2 separate regions of the Homo sapiens genome follow, and region 1 is linked to region 2. The links are contacts of gene promoters, found by promoter capture Hi-C in blood cells and fetal thymus (Javierre and others, 2016). All regions are on one chromosome and are shown on one strand. Each heading gives the region's core, a stretch centred on a gene start or on the middle of the fragment in contact. The rest is flanking DNA. Distances are from core to core; before and after follow the strand shown. Region 1 overlaps LINC02042 (long intergenic non-protein coding RNA 2042). Region 2 holds the start of CD200R1L (CD200 receptor 1 like).

The links. Contacts are between HindIII fragments. The CHiCAGO score rates a contact against its expected background, and 5 or more counts as called.
Region 1: a contact is called between a fragment that was not itself captured here and the fragment with the promoter of CD200R1L in region 2, in 2 of 17 cell types (M1 macrophages and M2 macrophages). The highest score is 7.0, in M1 macrophages.

What each region holds. Positions count from the first base shown.
Region 1 is chr3:112,733,098-112,739,986 of GRCh38, reverse strand. It overlaps LINC02042 (long intergenic non-protein coding RNA 2042), which reads left to right. Exons shown (of 5, transcript NR_110017.1): 3 at 1-293; 4 at 1,162-1,309; 5 at 3,291-3,538. MIR9900 (microRNA 9900) reads right to left here and starts at 2,898; the gene lies at 2,806-2,898. The HindIII fragment of the contact is 7,250 bases long and covers 1-5,129 here.
Region 2 is chr3:112,844,417-112,851,154 of GRCh38, reverse strand. It overlaps CD200R1L (CD200 receptor 1 like), which reads left to right and starts at 4,291. Exons shown (of 8, transcript NM_001199215.3): 1 at 4,291-4,530; 2 at 5,205-5,476. RefSeq lists an enhancer at 260-429 and a silencer at 6,197-6,356. The HindIII fragment of the contact is 1,004 bases long and covers 3,723-4,726 here.

The sequences.
Region 1 (6,889 bases), core at 255-2,754, 110 kb after region 2:
AGGTCCCATTCTACTTTCTCTGACTGATCAGGTCACTGTTTTCAGCTACCTGGCCCTTCTAAGTCAGGGTCACTAGAGTATTGGGAGGTTTGTAACTTCTTCATTGGTGTCTTGTGTTTTCCTGTCTTTGAACTTGAGGAAAGCTGGCCCTGGATGTTCACAACATCAACCAAGCAATGAAAACCACAGCACCCTACAGGAAATTCTGCATTTCTCTCAAAACATGCAAAACACAAAATTGGGTGGAACCACAGAAGGTTATGGATAACTCACTACAGTTTGGACTTTCAAAGGTAAAATGTAATATTTGACTCATGGCTATCACTTCTGGGAGATTTTTCAGGAGAGATATCTATGTTTCTGAAAGTCTGTATGCTTGCCTTTATTTTTTCTAACTTACTATAAATTCTTGTCAGTTCTGGACATTTTGGTTAAACTTGTTTCTACTGTTACTTGTTCATGCTGTCGACTAATAAAAAAGACAGTGTTTTTAAGACTGTGCTTCATGGAGCCCTAGGGGCTTGAAAAAGCATTTCAGGAGCTATTTTGGGGCCAGGGAGAGGCTGAGTGAGTCAGGAACCAGATCATGCTGTTTCTGTCACCAAATACAAACACACACACACAGATACAATATCAAGTATAAAATCAGACACAAACTCCAATAAAAATAATCCCTTGTATATACTATAAATAATATGTATTATATATATGTGTATATATACATATATGTGTATGTATATATCTATATGTATACATGGTATATATACATATATACTATGAGGTTGTATATATACTATGCCTCACATAGTATATACACACATCTATAGCATATATGTGTATATACTCTGTGTGTGTGTGTATATATATATATTTGTTTTTAAACTACGAAACTGTACATAAAACTTTGGAGAAACGAGTTCGTTAATTAAAATGAGTTTGAAAATCTCTGGGTCAACTATCCAAAAATGTGTATATAGTTGAATACAATCCATGAAATCCTAAGTAATATACCAGTAGAGAATAGAATTTGCAAGATTACATTCCTTTTAATCAAGTTCTGTGCACATTAGAAAGAATTTAGTACAGACAAAAAGCCATGCTCATTCATTTAGACATTCATTCTGCTACTATTTACTGACACTTTTTTTGTATGTGTTCCAGGCCCTGGGAAAACTATCCTACTTTTGTGAGATACTATTGTTCTACCTGTAATGCAAGTGAACAGATCTTAATAAGGACAAATAACAATTTTTTAAATGTTTACCATATTTTCTCATTTGTTCCTTTCATCAAGCATCCAACCTGCCAGGTAATTATTATTATCTGCTTGCTTCAAATAAGGAAAGTAAACCTCAGAGAAATTAAGCAATTTTTTCATGGTCAGTCATCCAGTGAATAGCCTTTCAACTCTTTCCTAACCCTCTCCAGTTTGTCAGCTTAGCTGTGGGAGCTCAGACAGGGCACACTCTCTCTGAGCTCAGCTGAATCACATATAAAATACATGTAATATCTTTCCTATCTCATATGGTTGCAAAACTTTAAAAGAGCTAATATGTGATAGTGCTTTTCAAGGCAAAAATCAAGCCATATTATACTGGTACCAGGTGATGAATTATTTTTACTGGACTTTGTGCTTGATTTTTCTACCCTGGGCTTTGCTAATCAGAAGGTCAGAATCAATCATTATACAACTATGGATCAAAAGCAAGGCATGGGCAATTGAAAAGACCACAAGTTAGAACAATGCTTCTCAAAATATCTGGGATTAAAAACCAGCTAGTTCTTTTAAATTCCCAGTTCCTCATGGATGAATACACAAAATATAAACACCTCTTTTTTTGTCATTAGCTTTAAGGGATTTAAAATTATTGCATTCTAAATGCAATTCTCAATTTCGGTATGAATCTTGTCATGAACTGATAAGAAACAGTTGTCAGTAGTCTGTGAACACACTTTCAACACTACTGGGTTAGGATATCCTCAAATTGGTTGAAGTTTGAATTTTCAAAATTCTTTACAGAGTTGTCCTTGAACCTACAAATATGAACCAAAAATCAGCCCCCAAAAAAAGAGAATGGGAGAAGAAAAAAGGTTCTTCACACTCTATATCAGGTTCCCTAGTCTAGAGAAATATAAAGGGGAAATTTTGTCCAAAAGCAGTCATTTCATGATTTATGTAATAGAGATGCTCCAACCAAGGACACCATAAAACCAATTTGTGTAAAGCAGGTTTTATGTATATCCATCAGAAAACTCCTCTAAATGCTTCAACTAAAATTGAGAGGTAGTTGAAGGATTTTGCTTTCTCCTCTATAGAGTGAGAGGTTATATTAATATTCCTTCTAATATTTTGTGCTTTTGCATTGGAAGCTAACTCAGTGCCTGGGTATTAGAACAAACCAGCAGAATTTCTCTGGTAGGAACTTTCTGCCCAGAGACCTCTGTTCTATTGCTTTTCCCTTGCTGTTACTCACAACCGCGTGTAACAATCTCATACCTTAGTTCTCTTCTTTTTTCCTGATATTTAGAATGCCTAGTAGAGCCGCAAATGGCATGTCATATTTTGTCAGGAGATGGCATTGACTAATGTGTGCAGAAAACACCCCTGAGTTAGATACTTTGAGTCATGTACGATGACCAGTTCAGTATTTAACACTTGACAAAGCTCAAAGCTGTTTACATGAAATGTATATTTTTGGCTTCTGGTAGTCTATGCTGCTATTACGGAAGGTTATAGTTAGCAGGTTTAAGAAATATTTTTTTGGGCTTTCTAGAATGAATAATTTGAATGGTACCAGCAGCAATTCTTTGTGAGCTGAAGGCTTGATGCAGTCTCTTAGGACCTGTCCTTTTAGAAGTAAGAGCGGGTTCTTAGAGGCCACATCCTGCCTTTCAGATAGAGATATCAGCTTCTACCAGGAATAGTTCCTTTCATACTACACTTAAGTAGGCAGTGAGAATAATCAGCACGATTGAAACTACCTTTGCAAAATTATGACTGAGACAGCGAAAGAGATCTAACTTAACTGACTCCATCTTGCTTCTAACCTCCATGCTGTCTTTTTCATTCCTGGGCGTAGGACGAACTAACTTTGAGAGAAATTTAGTTTATAGTTTAAAAAAAAAGATGGTAACAGCCCTTTCCCAAAGCAGACCTCCTTCTTGCCTGGGGACTAGACCAATATTAGCCAGAAGGTTAGAAATTACGGTTTAGGAGTCATGCAGCTGGAGGCTATAAGAATCTGACTCCCTAAACTGCTCCTAAGATCAGTGCTTGAGATACTTTGCAGACCCTGCACTTGATGGATCAGCTGGCACCACCCAAATCAATAAACCGGCTCATCTGATCTTGTGGCACCCACCCAAGAACTGACTCAGCACAAGGAGACAGCTTCGACTCCCTGTGATTTCATCCCTGTCAACCAGCACTCCTGGCTCACTGGCTTCCCCCCACCCAACCAAGTTATCCTTAAAAACTCTGCTCCCTGAATGCTCAGGGAGTTTGATTTGAATAATAATAAAACTCCAGTCTCCTGCACAGCCGGCTCTATAAATTACTCTTTCTCTATTGCAATTCCCCTGTCTTGATGAATCGGCTCTGTCTAGGCACCGGGCAAGGTGAACCCCTTGGGTGGTTACACTAGCATTGGTTTTTGTTTGCCACTGCAGCATTAATTATGTGTTTTTTATGGCAATAGAAATTTTTTTTTACTGCCTTTCCTCAATGTTACATGAAGACATATTTCACAAGTAGGCCAAGTACAAAGTAGGAATAGAAGCTAGAATGGAATCATAGACCAGATTCTTACATAGATCACATCAGCCAGGCTGAGGCTCCATCTGTGTGCATGGCACGGCACAGCTGCGTTGGTTGCTTATAGCTAGCATCTGTTCTGATTGGTTGGTGCCTGTGGCTTTTCAGTTGCTCAGAGTTTTGAATACCAACCCTGGGTACACAGTTATCTCTGAAAGCTAAAATGGTGAAATATAACACATAATGAATGCAATGAGCCAGCTCTAGACACAACCAAGAGAATTCCCGTAACTGGGAACCTGAGAAAGTATAAAAGCACTTAATTGAAGGTGTAAATGAGAGAAAGCAGGTTTGAAATGCAACCAAAACAAAGCCCACACATAGACAACTGTATTTATAAGTTGTTTCTAAATGGGAATGGAACGGTGTTTTTCCGGGAATCTAGGGAACAGTCTCTCTACGGCGACTTTTCTCATGTGAGAAAACAGACATTTAGCAGAAAACCAGAAAATGTTCATTGGCTTCGGTGAACTTTTATTCCAAGTTTCAATGAGGGACCCTGTGCAGAGGCTTGGGACACGGAGACCTCCCTCTGCTGCCTTTAAGGAAGGTCATTAAAAAAAAAAAAATTCCGTTTTTTTTTTTTTTTTAAAGACGGAGTCTCGTTCTGTCGCCAGGCTGGAGTGCAGTGGCCTGATCTCGGCTCACTGCAACCTACGCCTCCCAGGTTCAAGAGACTCTCCTGCCCCAGCCTCCTGAGTACCTGGGACCACAGGCGCCCGCCACCACGCACAGCTAATTTTTGTATTTTTAGTAGAGATGGGGTTTGAGCATGCTGGCCAGGATGGCCCCGATCTCTTGACCTCGTGATCCGCCCGCCCCAGCCTCCCAAAGTGCTGGGATTATAGGCGTGAGCCACCGCCCTTCTAACTTTTCTATTGTACCACACTGATGGCAAGGAAGGGCGGTAGGAAAGCCTGCCAAGGAAAGGGAGGACCGGCCTGCATATTCTTAAGCGCTGTGGGACACTGTTCTGTAGACGTTGCCCATCCCATTGCTCTCTCAGGGAGGGATGAGCCACGGCCAGGAGCAGCTCCTGGTCATCTACTGTACCACGTGTGCAGAGGGAAGACACACTCCCAGAGAAGAAAATGCTGGGAAAAAGAGACCACAGCCTTTGTATGGTGGCTCAATGTAAGTACTTCTTGACATGTCCAGTTGTACAGCTCCTCTTTGGGGTTGGAGCGCTTTGCTTTCCAGGGTGTAGATTGGGGTCTGGGGAAGTGGTGAAGTGGAGTGAAACTGGAGGCCTGGAGCTCCCCCTAGAGGCCAAATGTATTTTACCCTGACTCAAGAAAACCTGGAGCTGGAAGCTTGGCTCATCAAACCTAAAGTAAGAGTAAGAATCAGCAGTATTGTCGGCACTACCCCGGGAAGGGAGAGATACTAAACCTAGTGAACAGTGCAGGTCCGGAATCCTTTATGTGAAGTTCTAAAACTCAAAAAACTTTGAAAATGGAAACTCTTTTGAGACCTATTTGGCAACAACGTTTACCTGCAATATGAGGACATAGTCTTTATTATCTTAATGTGAGTATTTTTATCTTTTATGACAGATATATTAATTAATGTGTTTAATCATGAGAGGCTGCCCATATTCCTAGTAGGAACGTTAAAAGGTAGAGTACCCACTAGGGGTGTTTTAATGTACAGTATATGAACTGTTTACTTCTCTCAAATCTTAAAAATTCAGAAATCTGAACTACATCTGGCCCCAATCAGCCAAAGGACTATAGGCCTGGGTATTATAATGCTCACTACTGTGTGGGCCTCAATCACAGCTCAACCTGTGCCATGTGACTTTCAACAAGTGACTCACTGGCTAGAAGGCTCAGCTTCTTCTTTAGTAAGATGGAAATATCACTAGTTTAGATATTAAATGAGTTTATGCACCGTGTTCAGCCCAGGACCTGGCAAATAGTAAACATCTAAGAGTGTTAGTGATTATTATCATACTTTGTTATTATTACTTGATCTGAGAGAGTGCATACCTCACTTTACTCTGATTCACAGTCACCAAAGAGTCATTTGACTACCAGCCACCAGGCCCACTATTACCAGGAAGGTGGAATCTTGAAAGACGAACATGAGCTTTTGGGCCACTGATGATCCATTATAAATCAATAATTTGATATTCTAGATCCTATCTCAATCTCTTGAATATCTAGAAAAATCAAATCAAACAAAAATCAGAGATACTCTTGGTTCTGAGACACACCTATACACCTAAAACCTTACTGGTTGCAAGCAGGCTTAAGTTACAGACAGCCAGACAGCCAAGAGCATTTTGAAGGTGGGAAAACTAAGGCAAAGAAATAGAATGATTTTTTTTGACATGAGCACAATAATTGTATGTGGGTCTTGGCTAATGGTTTGTGATTAGTTTACAATGATCCAAGAATCTAGAATAAGATTTTCTTTTCTTTTCTTGTCTTGTCTTGTCTTTTCTTGACATGCAGCCTCACTCTGTTCCCCAGGCTGGAATGCATTGGCACTATCTCGGCTCACTGCAACCTCTGCCTCTTGGGTTCAAGTGATGCTCCTGCTTCAGCATCCCTGAGTAGCTGGGACTACAGGCATGTGCCACCACTCCCAGCTAAATTTTGTATTTTTAGTAGAGACAGGGTTTTGCCGTGTTGGCCAGGCTGGTCTCAAACTCCTGACCTCAGGTGATCTGCCTGCCTTGGCCTCCCAGAGTGCTGGGATTACAGGTGTGAGCCACTGCACTTGGCCTAGAATAAAATTTTCTAAAATGTTGTACATAAAATACTAGTGCTGCAAGAGGTTCTTTGAATAAAAAATTTCCCCAAATTATTTAAAAATGAAACCCTTCTTTCAGGGAATATTTATTAACACCCACAGAATTTGGGTTAGATAGAGTGTACCTGGGGAAATACTGTTTTAGAGAGTATCAACTTCTGTATATAATTCAGGTAGATAATTCTTGGCTATTGGGTAATTTCAAGGGTGTCAAAATTTAATTTTTAAAAAATAAAATAATCACTCTCATCTGAATGTAAAATGAATACATATCAAATATTTTATTTAATACATTAATTAATGAAGGAATCAGTA
Region 2 (6,738 bases), core at 3,042-5,541:
TTGGAATTTCTAAGAATGTTGAATATAGACCCCCAATATTTTCTGGCTTGTAGGTTTTCTGCTGAGAGGCCTGCTGTTATTCTCATGGGCTTCCCTTTGTAGGTGACCAGTCCTTTCTCTCTAGCTGCCTTTAACATTTTTCTCTTTCATTTTGACCTTGGAGATTCTGATGATTTTGTGTCTTGAGGATGATCTTTATGTGAAGTGTTTTGTGGGGGTTCTCTGTATTCCTGAATTTGAATGTTGGTCTCTCTAGCTAGATTTGGTAAATTTTAATAGATGATATCCTGAAAAATGTTTTCCAAGTTGCTTCTATTCTCCCCATCTCTTTCAGGGATGTCAATGAGTTGTAGATTTGGCCTCTCTACATAATCCCATGTTTCTTGGAGGTTTGTTTGTTCCTTTTCATTTTCTCTATTTTTATTCTTGTCTGTCTTACTTTAAAAAGCCAGTCTTCAAGCTCTGAGTTTCTTTCCTCAGCTTTTTGTATTCTGCTCTTCATACTTATGAATGCATTATTAAATTATTTTAGTGTGGTTTCAGATCTATTAAGTTGGTTACATTCTTTTCTATACTGGCTATTTTGTCTGTCAGCTCCCGTACCATTTTATTGCGATCCTTAGTTTCCTTAGTTTGAGTTTCAACATTCTCCTGAATCTCAACAATCTTTGTTGTTATCCATATTCTGAATTCTTTTTCTGTCATTTGAGCCATCTCAGCTGAGTTAAGAACTCTTCTTGAAGAACTAGTGTGATCATATGGAGGAAAGAAGATGCTCTGGCTTTTGTAGTTGTCAGAGTTCTTGTGCTGCTTTTTTCTCATCTTTGTGGACCAATGTTCCTTCGATCTTTGAAGCTGCTGTCCTTTGGATGGGCTTTCTTTTTCTTTTACCCTATTTGATGATATTAGGGGTTTGTTTGTGGTATAAGGTGGCTTCATTTCTGGAATGTTTTAGAGGTCCAAGGCTCAGCTCAGGACCCCTGGACTTCATGCTCTAACTCTGGGGTTCTATTATTGGGTCCTGGTTTTGTTCTTTGGCTTCTTGAGGTTAGGAAGGAACCTGCTGCACTGGAGGGGCCATGGTGCTCCAAGCTGGTCACAACACTCTAATGGTTACAACACTCTAATGGGTGGTGCCAGGCAAACCACTCCATAGGGCAGTAGCAGTGGGATCCATCCTGGTTCACATGTACCAGCAACAGTGACAGTGGCAGCATGTCAGGGTGCACACTCATGGACTTTACCAGGGTGCTAGTTGGTGCCAGGCTGCCAGCCTCCATGTGGTTGTTTGCAGCAGTATGGTGGGATCATAGCTCAGGGGTGCAGGGCCCCTGCCAGTGTCTGTGCACTCATTTGTGCCATTCATGGTGTTAGCATGGGGACAGGTTACTGGCAGATGCAGAACTGTGTGTGCCCTCTGCAAGAGTTCACACTGGCAGCCTTGGCTGCTCAGGACAGGGGTGGTTCTGCTTTTCTCCCTCCATAGTTTCTCTCTGGTGGCAGTGTCAGAACAGGGTAGTTGCAGGTGGGGGCAGGTCTAGTGTGCTCCGTGCCTGCCAATGCTCCAATGACAATGGCTGTTCAGCAAAGGGTAGGAGCGGGGTGCACTCACATTTGCAGCAGTGACAGGGCAGGGTGCATGTGCACACACATGGTAGTGTGTAAGGGAAGGGAAGGTCCCCTGGTGCACACGTGCACCAGCAAAGTAATGTTGGTGGGGGAGGGCTGGCAGCAAAGTGACACAAGTGAGCCTATGGATGGGGGAGGGTGCAGGCGAGCTGGTGTGTGTCTGCAGGGTCTGCTCTGCTGGAGCACTCTGCCAGTCAGGCATGGTCCACCAGTGCAGAAGTTATGATCTGAGCCGCCAAGAGGTACCTGGTACTTGGAGCCCTGGGAGAGGCCAGTAGACTGAGGGGTGCTCAGGTCAAACCAGCCCCATCTCATGGGCAAGACCACCCTGCAGAGTTAAGGTCCAACAGTTACCCTAGGGACAAAGTCTCCTGTGGCAGCAAGTTGAGCCTAAGGGTATGGGTAACCCTGGCTGTGCTTCACTACAGATGCTCTAGAACCAAACTCTCTGGGCTTCACACCAGCAGGAGCTCTGCTTCTATCACTTCTCTAAGCAGGTCTTTCTATCAGTTCAAGTGTCCGTGGTGGTCCAGGGGTCTTCTCCTGCTGGGATTCCAGAGGCCCATGGTGAAACTGGGTTGCTCCTTGCCTGTTTAACCCATCATCACCTTGCAGGAGTCACTGGGGGCCAGGAATGAGTTCTAGTGTTCCATAGCTCCATGCAGCATTTCCATCTTCCTCCCCCTTCAGCCCAGCATCTGCTTCTTCCCTCCATCTGCTCTCAGTGCCTTCCCTCTGAAGAAGGGCTAGAAGTGTGCCAGCCTTTCCAATGCCCGGGTGTCTCAGTGGAAGATATTCCTCCTGGCTGTTTCTAGTTGGCCATCTTGGAAGAGAAATCCCTGATTGAAGATCTGTTTGCAGCACAACCTATTTCATAACTGAAAACCTTGGGCTGTTGGGAATTTTAAATTCAGCCACACTTAATTGAGGCTTTAATTATGCCATTCAGTTCTAGTGCTTTGATACATAACAGCAGTATCATGGATACTGACCTCACCTTTGCTAACTGTGCACCTCAAAGCTCCTTGACTTAAATGATATTTGCATATCAAGCCCCTAGGCCTAACATTGCCTTCATATTCCACATGTGGTTCAGCCTCGTTATAGTACCACAGAGCCACAAAAATAAGACCCACATCAACTCAAGTTTGTGATCATTTGAAAAGGATGTCCCACATCACAGTTCCAGTTTCAGTTTCACATTATAGATGATATTACTTCGGCCCAAGACTTTGACCTTGAAGATGAATTTGCCCTTTTCCCCAGAAACGACTTCACCCTGGACACTGAGACCACCACCCCAGCAACATCCATAGGCTGGCTTTCCTAAGGAGCTAAAAAATTGGACACAGGACATTTATCATTTTACTTCCTTTGATATAAGAAATTCTGTTTCGTTTCCTGAGTTCACCATTTGCTTAAACTCTTGTTCTTTGCCAAAGTGTACCCCTTTATACTTCCATGCCTAAAGGAAAATCTGGTAGAGTGTATTACTCTTTGAGCCATTCTAATAATTAATGAGATTATTGCTTTCCCCAGGAAGCAACTGCCTCATATGGGTTCACCACTTAACCCCCTGGAGAGAGGACCTCCCATTGCCCATTACCTCCTCTGACACTTTCCATTCCAGTTTGCCACCACAACATCCTGCCCTGCACCCATGACCCACAGCTGCTACCTCTTCCTCTAGGTTACAAACGTCATTAATCTTTACATATACCTTACTTAACTAACTTCATACTCTCCAAAAATATAATTGTTGGACCTGCCACCTTGAACCCTGGAATGTACCAAGAGATTACCGTCACGCACACAAAAATATAGCTCATGTTTTAACATACTTTAAGTCAATCAGGATATTGTTAGAGATCTTGGAAATCCCGGATCTGTTTTCTTGGCTAAGGCCATACAATGTGAAACTTGGTTATGAACCAGCCTACAAGGACTCTTTATACTCCTACTTGTTTTCCTCCTTTTTAAGGAGAAAATAATAAAATTTTTGTGTGTGTGTGCTATTTAGGGCAATGTATGCACTACTTACTAAAACTCTGCTCTACAACTTAGGCCACCCAAATAATTCAAGTAATCAAGCTTAACACTAATGTGGAGATCAAGAAGTCAATTTTAATATAGTTTTCATGTAAAAAAAAAATGCCTTCTAGTCCCAGTTTTGAGCCCCTAACAGTTAGCTCCCCTTCTTGAATATCTGATTTAAGTCCCCCCAGCCTCTTCCCTTATCTGGTTCTCACACTGTATGTCACTATATACCTGCCCTAATTGCCCAGGGCTAAGTACCAGACAACTACAAACAGCCCCATGGACAGCTATGTCCTAGAGCTTGTGAAGTTATTCAAATTAGCTAAGGCACAGGGTTCTCAGGAAACCTAATTCTACTCCAATTACCATATATAAGGTACTCTCTACAGCTCCAGTGTGTTGTTACCCTGTCCCTGTGTGCAACCACTGTGTGGCCCTACATGGAATTCTTCTCTTGTTTGGAGCTATAAGTAACAAAGAGGTTTGCCTTTCACCTATCCAAGAGTCTTCATGTTGTGTCCTGTCATCAAAAGAATCTTTAATCTTATAAAACAGAAGGGTAGAATCTTTGCTTCGGTCTTAGTTTCCAGTGGTTTCCTGGCAACCTTTGGTTTTCCTTGGCTTGTAGAAGAAACATCACTCAGATCTCTGCCTTTTATCTTCACATGGTGTTCCTGTGTATGCGCCCAGTTTTCCTCTTTTTATAAGGACACCATAAAAAGCTAAGAAGTGCAAAAGAAGAAAAAAAGAATAAACCAAAGACGCCAGTCATATTGGATTAGGGACCAATCTATTTCAGCATGGCCACATCTTAACTAATTATATCTCCAATGACCCTATTTCCAAATAAGGTCATCTTCTGAGGTACTGGGGATTAGAATTTCAACAAATAAATGTTGGGCGGGGGTTGCACTATTCAACCATGACTGAAAGTAGTTATTAAAGACACACATATGACTATCTTATAACCCAACAATTTAATTCCTAGGTGTATATCCAAGAAAATGAATGTACACATAGACCAAAAATTATGTACAAAACAAGAATGTTCTTAGAAGCTTTATGTTAGCCCCAAACTGGGATAATGTAAATCTACAGAGAAATTGATGAATAAATTGTGATATAGTTATTGAAAATTTACTATACAGCATTAAAAATTGAAATTTGCAAAGAATTTCATGCATGTGAAGTTCAAAAACTGTCAGAATGAATTAAAGCTATTAGAAGTCTGAGTAGTGTTTACTCAACTTCTCTGGAGGAGATGATATCAGCAGAGAAGGAACAAAGGACACTTTGGAACAAAGGACACTTTGAATAATAATTATCAACATCTTGGTTTTGGAAGTAATTAGATAAGCGCATATATAGGTAGAAATTCATCAAACCATACACTCAAGATTTGTTCATTTTACCATATGTAATTTATACTCTCAAAATGCTACTTTTTAAATGAGTTGTTATATAGTTTATCTTGCTACTTCAATGTTGTGGGAGAAGCAATGAGTAGTAAGCATTGGCTTTTTTGCTTTATTACACAGCAAAACTCACTGACATTTCCCATCAGTGGTTAATCAGTCAAAAACATATAGAATGACAGCAAAAATTAAAGATAAGCAAGATAATGAAGAAATATGTTTTGCAATCCTGTTGAAGACAGAATAAGCAAAAGTGACCAAGAGAAACAGATTCACCAAGTCTGTTGATTGATTTAAAGTGGATTTATGTTTAAGTAGAAAACCACTCCAAAAGCATACTTTAGGGAAGATGTCAGCTCCAAGATTACTGATTTCCATCATTATCATGGTGTCTGGTAAGTCTGATACTGTGACATTTTCAGCTGAAAATAAAGCTTTCTTTCAATGATTATGAGGATACTCTTGATCTACTTACTTATAAGGTGTTTCTTGACTTGTCCTAGCAGCAGTGATAAATGTGTACATTATCCAGCAAAACTCCTTCTGAGTTGCCTTATCCCAGTGGTGTACTGACTAGGTGACTGGCTGAATTCAGAGTAATTGGGGGCTGGGATTGAAGTGAAACTAAAATTTTGTGACCTAAAAGTGGTCCTGGGCTGCTTTTGTTGGTAGATTTTTAAAATTACTGATTCAATTTGAGAACTTGTTATTAGTTTGCTTAGGGTTTCAATTTCTCCTGATTCAATCTTGGGAGGTTGTGTATTTTCAGGAATTCATCAATCTCTTCTAGATTTTTCTAGTGTGTGTGCATAGAGGTGTTTATAATAGTCTCCGAGGACATTTTGTATTTCTGTGAGATCAATTGTAATGTCACCTGTGTAATATCTGATTGTAGTTATTTGAACCTCCTCTTTTTTTTTCTTTGTTAATCCAGCTAGTACTCTATTGACCTTGTTTGTCTTTTCAAGGAGTCACCTTTTGGTTTTGTTGATGCTTTGTATAGATTTTTGGATCTCAATTTCATTCAGTTCTGCTCTGATTTTAGTGATTTATTTTCTTCTGCTGGCTTTGGGGTTAGTTTATTCTTGTTTTTCTAGTTCTTCTTCAACTTCCTCTTCTTTTTATTTATTTATTTACTTATTTATTTTTGAGACGGATTTTAGCTCTTATTGCCCAGGCTGGAGTGCAGTGGTGCCATCTTGGCTCACTGCAACCTCTGCCTCCTGGGTTCAAGAGAGTCTCTTGCCTCAGCCTCCTGAGTAGCTGGGATTACAGGCACCCGCCACCACACCTGGCTAATTTTTGTATTATTAGTAGAGTCAGGGTTTTACCATACTGGCCAGGCTGGTCTTGAACTCCTGACCTTGTGATCCACCCCCCTCAGCTCCCAAAGTGCTGGGATTACAGGCGTGAGCCACCACGCGCGGCCTTTTCTAGTTCTTCTAAGTGTAATGTTAGATTGTTAATTTGAGATCTTTCTAACTTCTTGATGTAGGTGTTTAGCACTATAAACTTTTCTCTTAATACTGTTTTTGCTGGATCTCAGGGATTTTTATATGTCATGCCTCTGTTTTAATTAATTTTAAACAGTTTTTGATTTCTTCCTTAATTTTATTGTCTACCCAAAACTTATTGAGGATCAAGTTGTTTAATTTCC